Linked DNA regions of Homo sapiens: region 1 is linked to region 2. Evidence: promoter capture Hi-C in 16 types of primary human blood cells and fetal thymus (Javierre and others, 2016). All regions are on one chromosome and are shown on one strand. The core of a region is centred on a gene start or on the middle of the fragment in contact, and the rest is flanking DNA. Distances in the headings are between cores, read along the strand shown. Region 1 overlaps ACIN1 (apoptotic chromatin condensation inducer 1). Region 2 holds the start of PSME1 (proteasome activator subunit 1).

Region 1 (2,700 bases), core at 193-2,692, 1.1 Mb before region 2:
GGAAGGTGTTTCTTGATCCTCTTCCTCCTCAGCAGGTTGGCTGCCCTCAGACAGTTTAGCTGCTCTTGCCTGAAAGAACAGATACACAATGGCTCCAAATGTATTTGCTCACAGTCAACAGAGGAGAGAAAGTATCTAATGAAGACACCCCTAGGAAGGAGAAATTCAATGATATATACTTTCAGCAACAGAAACAGGAGTGACAGGAGACAATCATGACTAACGTAGCCCTTAGGGGAATCAAAACAAAGTGACCAAAAGAAATATCACAATGAAGCTACTTGTATGTAGTTTAAATTTTAGCTTCAAGCACCCCCTTTTTTTTTTTTTCAGTAAAATATTAGCAGAACATCTGGAAAGTAAAAGGGTGGATAGGGGGCTGAAAGGAACTAACCTACTATCAATTAATACGATTATCTTTTTATCATTTTGGTATATTTCTTTTTGTTCTTTCCTCTAATCATTTCCTTTGTACAGTCATAATTACACTACACATAACATTTTTGTATTCTGCCCACTTAGTGTTATATAACTTTAAAGCTTTGATTGAATGGTTAATTATGTCATATCTTGTCTAATAATGTGCTTTAAGAATACAGAGCAGCCTGCTAATTTTCAAATTTAAACTTTTAAAAAATATTCACTTAGAAATCTAAAAGGCAGAGCAGATCTAAATAAAAAGACAAAACGAACAACAAAAAGATGACAAAGAGGAGAAGGAAGATAACCACAAAGAAATCTAGAGGCCAGGCAGTGGCTCATGCCTGTAATCCCAATCCTTTGGGAGGCTGAGGTGGAAGGACTGCTTAAGCCTAGGAGGTCGAGGCTGTAGTAAGCTGTGATTGTGCCACTGCACTCCAGCCTAGGCGACAGAGCCAGACTCTGTCCCAAAAAAGAAAAACAAAACCCCTAAATGTAGAGACATACAAACTCAAAACAAGTCTGAAGAAGAGAAGATATCCAAAGCATTACTGAAGAGGTAATGCTTTAGGAGGTATCTGAGTTACCTGTCTGACCCTAGATGATCGTCTTTCTCCTTTCCTTGGTTTCTCATCATCAGAGTCACCTTTCTCTTCAGAAATTGAGGAGCTTTTTCCTATTGAATGAAAAAGAATCAAGTCAGATTCATGAAGTGAAGACTCATTCATGGCTTTTTAAAAATCAGGCTTTCTAATATCCAACCAATTATAGCATATGAGCCTATCAAGACATATCTGTATCGGTTTCTTTGACTTCTACACTAAAGAAAAGACTACAAAAAGCCCTAACTAGGTCAGGGTCTTATTGGTAATTCTTGGTGTGCAAGTCTAGAATATTTTCAACACCTCGAAGCCAATTCACATGTTATAAATAACTCAAATAAATGTAAAATAATTTCCAGGGGCTTCAAACTGTCTAGCAGGGATGTACAAATATGAAGTGTACTTATTTCTACAAAGTGTTCTTACTCTGAATAAAGTTTAAGACTTCATTATGTTCTGTATCCATTTTTTTGGATTGCCTATTACTACTACTTTCTAATTTCAACCAAAATATTATGATGAAATATATGAATTTGCACAATAACAAACTCAAGAAATAAATACTTAGAGGAATGTTTTTCAGCGCCCTAAAGTTCCTGAAATTACTTCAAGCCAACTGGATGGGGTTTCAGAATTGGGTCCTGTCTATTAGGTTTTATGTATTAGAGCTCAATATTTTTTTTTTTTTTTTTTTTTTTTCTGAGATGGAGTCTCACTCTGTCACCCAGGCTGGATGCAGTGGTGCAATCTCGCCTCACTGCGACCTCTGCCCCCTGGCTTCAAACCAGTCTCATGCCTCAGCCTCCTGAGTAGCTGGGATTACAGGTGCCCACCACCATGCCTGGCTAATTTTTGTATTTTTAGTAGATATGGGGTTTCATCCTGTTGGACAGGCTGGTCTCAAACTCCTGACCTCAAGTGATCTGCCCGCCTTGGCCTCCCAAAGTGCTGGGATTACAGGCATGAGCTCACATGTTTTTCTTTTTTTTTTTTTGAGACAGAGTTTTGCTCTTGTTGCCCAGGATGGAGTGCAATGGCATGATCTAGGCTCACCACAACCTCCGCCTCCCAGGTTCAAGCGATTCTCCTGCTTCAGCCTACCGGGCAGCTGGGACTGCAGGCGCACGCCACCATACCTGGCTAATTTCGGTATTTTTTACAGAGGCGGGGTTTCATCATGTTGCCTAGGCTGGTTCGAACTCCTGGGCTCAAGCAATCCCCCCGCCTTGGCCTCCCAAAGTGCTGGAATTACAGGCGTGAGTCACCGCACCCGGACTAGGTGAGATTTTTTTTTTTTTTAAGGAAAAAAAAAGTTCTATTAAAAAGCTTGGAAACCACCAATCTAGGTTATCCTGAACAATAAATCCATGTAAAACGGAAAGAAAGTTTCACTCAAATTCCATGAAGGAAGGTAACTGGGTAAATCACTTAAGTAATTTGGGTCTCAATATCTTTCTTTTTAGACAGTGTTTTACTCTGTCACCCAGGCTGGAGTGCAGTGGCATGATCATGGCTCACTGCAGCCTCAGCCTCCAGGGCTCAAGTAATCCTCCCACCCCGGTCCTCCCAAAGTGCTGAGATTAAGGTATAAACCACTGTGCCCGAGTCTCAAATGTCATGATTGAGAAAAAGGAGGGGCTGCACTAGATGATTTCCAAATTTCCTACCAGAATTAAGA
Region 2 (2,700 bases), core at 19-2,518:
ACCCCGTCTCTACTAAAAATACAAAAAATTAGCCGGGCGTGGTGGGACGCGCCTGTAGTCCTAGCTACTCCGTAGGCTGAAGCAGGAGAATCGCTTGAACCCTGGAGGTGGAGGTTGCAGTGAGCCTAGATGGTGCCACTGCACTCCACCCTGGGCGACAGAGCGAGACTCCGTCCCCCAACACACACACACACACACACACACACACACACGTTTGCCAAAACCTGGTTTAAATCAGTAAATTATCCTGGAAAAAAAAAAAAAAACACCTGGCTAATATCAGAGAGATAAATGCTATGAATGTACTAAAACAGGATGATTTGTAATAGATTTGGAGGGAGGTTCCTTATAAAGGATGATGAAAATAGTTCTCTCTGAAGAGGTGACATCTAAACTGAGAACCGAATGACAACACCCAGGGTAAGGGTGTTTTAGGCAAAGGGATTATTAGCAAGGGCAAAGGCCCTGAGGCAGAAATGAACATGACACATCTGAGAAACAAATAGCCCAAATATTTGCAAGTGTAATGAATGAAGGGGCAAGCAGTAGAAAGTGGACTTAAAGGGGAGACAGGTGCGACAGCCTTTTGGATTTCATTCAAAGGTCAACAGGCAGCTGAGAAAGGGTTTTAAGCCAGAGAGAGGCATGAACCCGCTGCTCCGTGAGAGTGGGTTATAGAATGGCATCTGCAGCCGTGGTCCAGGAGAGAGTTGGTCCGGGCTTGGATAGGGATGCTGCCAGCTCTGGTGCCGGTGTTGCTACAGGTGCGCAGGATGTCGGCAGAGCCAGAGGCCCACGCTAGCAAGGCTAGGAAAGACAGGCCAGGTCTTATTCCATCTCTAGGGAAAGACGGAAGAGCCCTAAGTAAAGCTTATCTGTCCCAGGCGGAGCAGGGGAAGAAGAGAGCAGGTGGGGAGCCAGTTGGGAGGCGGGAGGTGGAGGTTGGGACGCGGAGAGACTGGCTTGGGCTTGGCGATGGGAGGACCCGGACCCGCCGTCCTCAGGCGGCGGGCGGCAGGTGGCGGGAGGCGGGAGGCGGGGACCGGGCCAGCGGAGGTGGGGAGCCTGGAAGCTGGCCCTCGCGAGGCGGCGCGGGGAGGGTGGGTGAAGAGCGCCTGTGCGCGCTAGGCGGAGCCTCACCCGCCGCCCTCCTCTGCGGCACCGCCCCTTCCATGGCAGGGCTGACCCCGCCTCCTCCATCCGACCCCGCCTCCTCCAGCCCTCCCCGCCCCACTACCCAGGAAGGCGGAGCTGGGTGCGAGCGCCCTACCGCTTTCGCTTTCCCTTCGCGGTGCCCACTCCACTCCTTGTGCGGCGCTAGGCCCCCCGTCCCGGTCATGGCCATGCTCAGGGTCCAGCCCGAGGCCCAAGCCAAGGTGAGCGCCGCGGGGTCTAGAAAGGGCCCACTGGGGAGGCGTGGCTGGAGCGGCCGGGGGCATCCCCGACCCGCCCCCCAGGCTCCCACGCGAGTCGGGGGCAGTCGGCCGAGCTGGCGCGCCCGGAGCACCTGCGCCCCGGGGAGGGCGGCGACTGCTGCCTGCGGGGAGAGGCGAGGCGGCCGTGGTTCTGCGGGGTGAGGTGAAGCGGAGAGCTGGCGTGGAGGGGAACTCCGCTGGCCTGGGGCCGGGGCCACACACAGACTGGGTGCGGGACTGCCCCAGCTACCTTCTGGCCTTTCCCTCAGGGAGGGTCCCGGGGCCCACCCCATCCCTGTCCTACTTGCAGAGGACTCTCAGCACCCCTCCTCACACCTGCCAGGCGACCCCAGAGATCTGTTCTCACGTGAACACTGGCCCTTCACCGCCAGGAATGTTCTCATCCCCCATATCCAGCCCCAGGGATACCCACTCCACTTTCCGTAGATCCAGGTCTGCAGAGATCCACCTTCTCCACCACCCCAACCCACCCTACAGGCATCCATCTCGCTTTCTTCAGGTCTGGCCTTAGAGGGATCCCCTCCACCCTTCCCCAGGTCAGGCCCTACATAACCCTAAGGGAACTGTCCTCAAATGAACTGGCCTTAAAGCCAAGTTTCTGAAGGGATGCGTGTGCCCCACAGGTGGATGTGTTTCGTGAAGACCTCTGTACCAAGGTAAGACATGCCCCATCAGCGTGGCCCCACCCCTGCCCAACTCCTACTGCTCAACCCTGCCTCACTACCTAGGACGGGCATTTGATGCTGACTCCCATCCTCCTCCACCCCCACCTCACACACAGACAGAGAACCTGCTCGGGAGCTATTTCCCCAAGAAGATTTCTGAGCTGGATGCATTTTTAAAGGTACCGCGGCTGGGCAGGGAGCTAGGGAGTAAAGGCCAAGAGAAGAGTCTGGAGGCTGTGAGAGTGAGGTGAGAGGAACTCCCTCACCTCCAGCCCTCCTCCCACCCTACACCAGGAGCCAGCTCTCAATGAAGCCAACTTGAGCAATCTGAAGGCCCCATTGGACATCCCAGTGCCTGATCCAGTCAAGGAGAAAGAGAAAGAGGAGCGGAAGAAACAGCAGGAGGCAAGCTGGGAAGACCTGGGAGAAGGGATCCAACTATGGGGGTAATCAACCTTAGTCCTGACTCTCATGAGCTCCTCTCTTTCTGCAGAAGGAAGACAAGGATGAAAAGAAGAAGGGGGAGGATGAAGACAAAGGTACTTGAAACCACAATGGTGGGAAGAGACTTGAGTCCCACTCACAGGAGCTCCTCCTAA

The links. The method cuts DNA at HindIII sites, captures the fragments that hold promoters and counts their contacts. A CHiCAGO score of 5 or more calls a contact.
Region 1: a contact is called between a fragment that was not itself captured here and the fragment with the promoter of PSME1 in region 2, in 1 of 17 cell types (M0 macrophages). The highest score is 5.4, in M0 macrophages.

Annotation. Positions count from the first base shown.
Region 1 is chr14:23,080,741-23,083,440 of GRCh38, forward strand. ACIN1 (apoptotic chromatin condensation inducer 1) reads right to left here. Exons shown (of 19, transcript NM_001386863.1): 5 at 1,008-1,096; 6 at 1-69. LOC124903288 (a long non-coding RNA gene) reads left to right here. Exons shown (of 2, transcript XR_007064077.1): 2 at 1-1,474. Among named protein-coding and RNA genes, the nearest start is that of ACIN1, 13 kb to the right of the region's middle. The HindIII fragment of the contact is 1,808 bases long and covers 539-2,346 here.
Region 2 is chr14:24,134,926-24,137,625 of GRCh38, forward strand. It overlaps PSME1 (proteasome activator subunit 1), which reads left to right and starts at 1,269. Exons shown (of 11, transcript NM_006263.4): 1 at 1,269-1,376; 2 at 2,060-2,092; 3 at 2,218-2,280; 4 at 2,396-2,506; 5 at 2,595-2,640. The coding sequence starts at 1,338. RefSeq lists silencers at 843-1,262, 1,313-1,602. The HindIII fragment of the contact is 8,418 bases long and covers 869-2,700 here.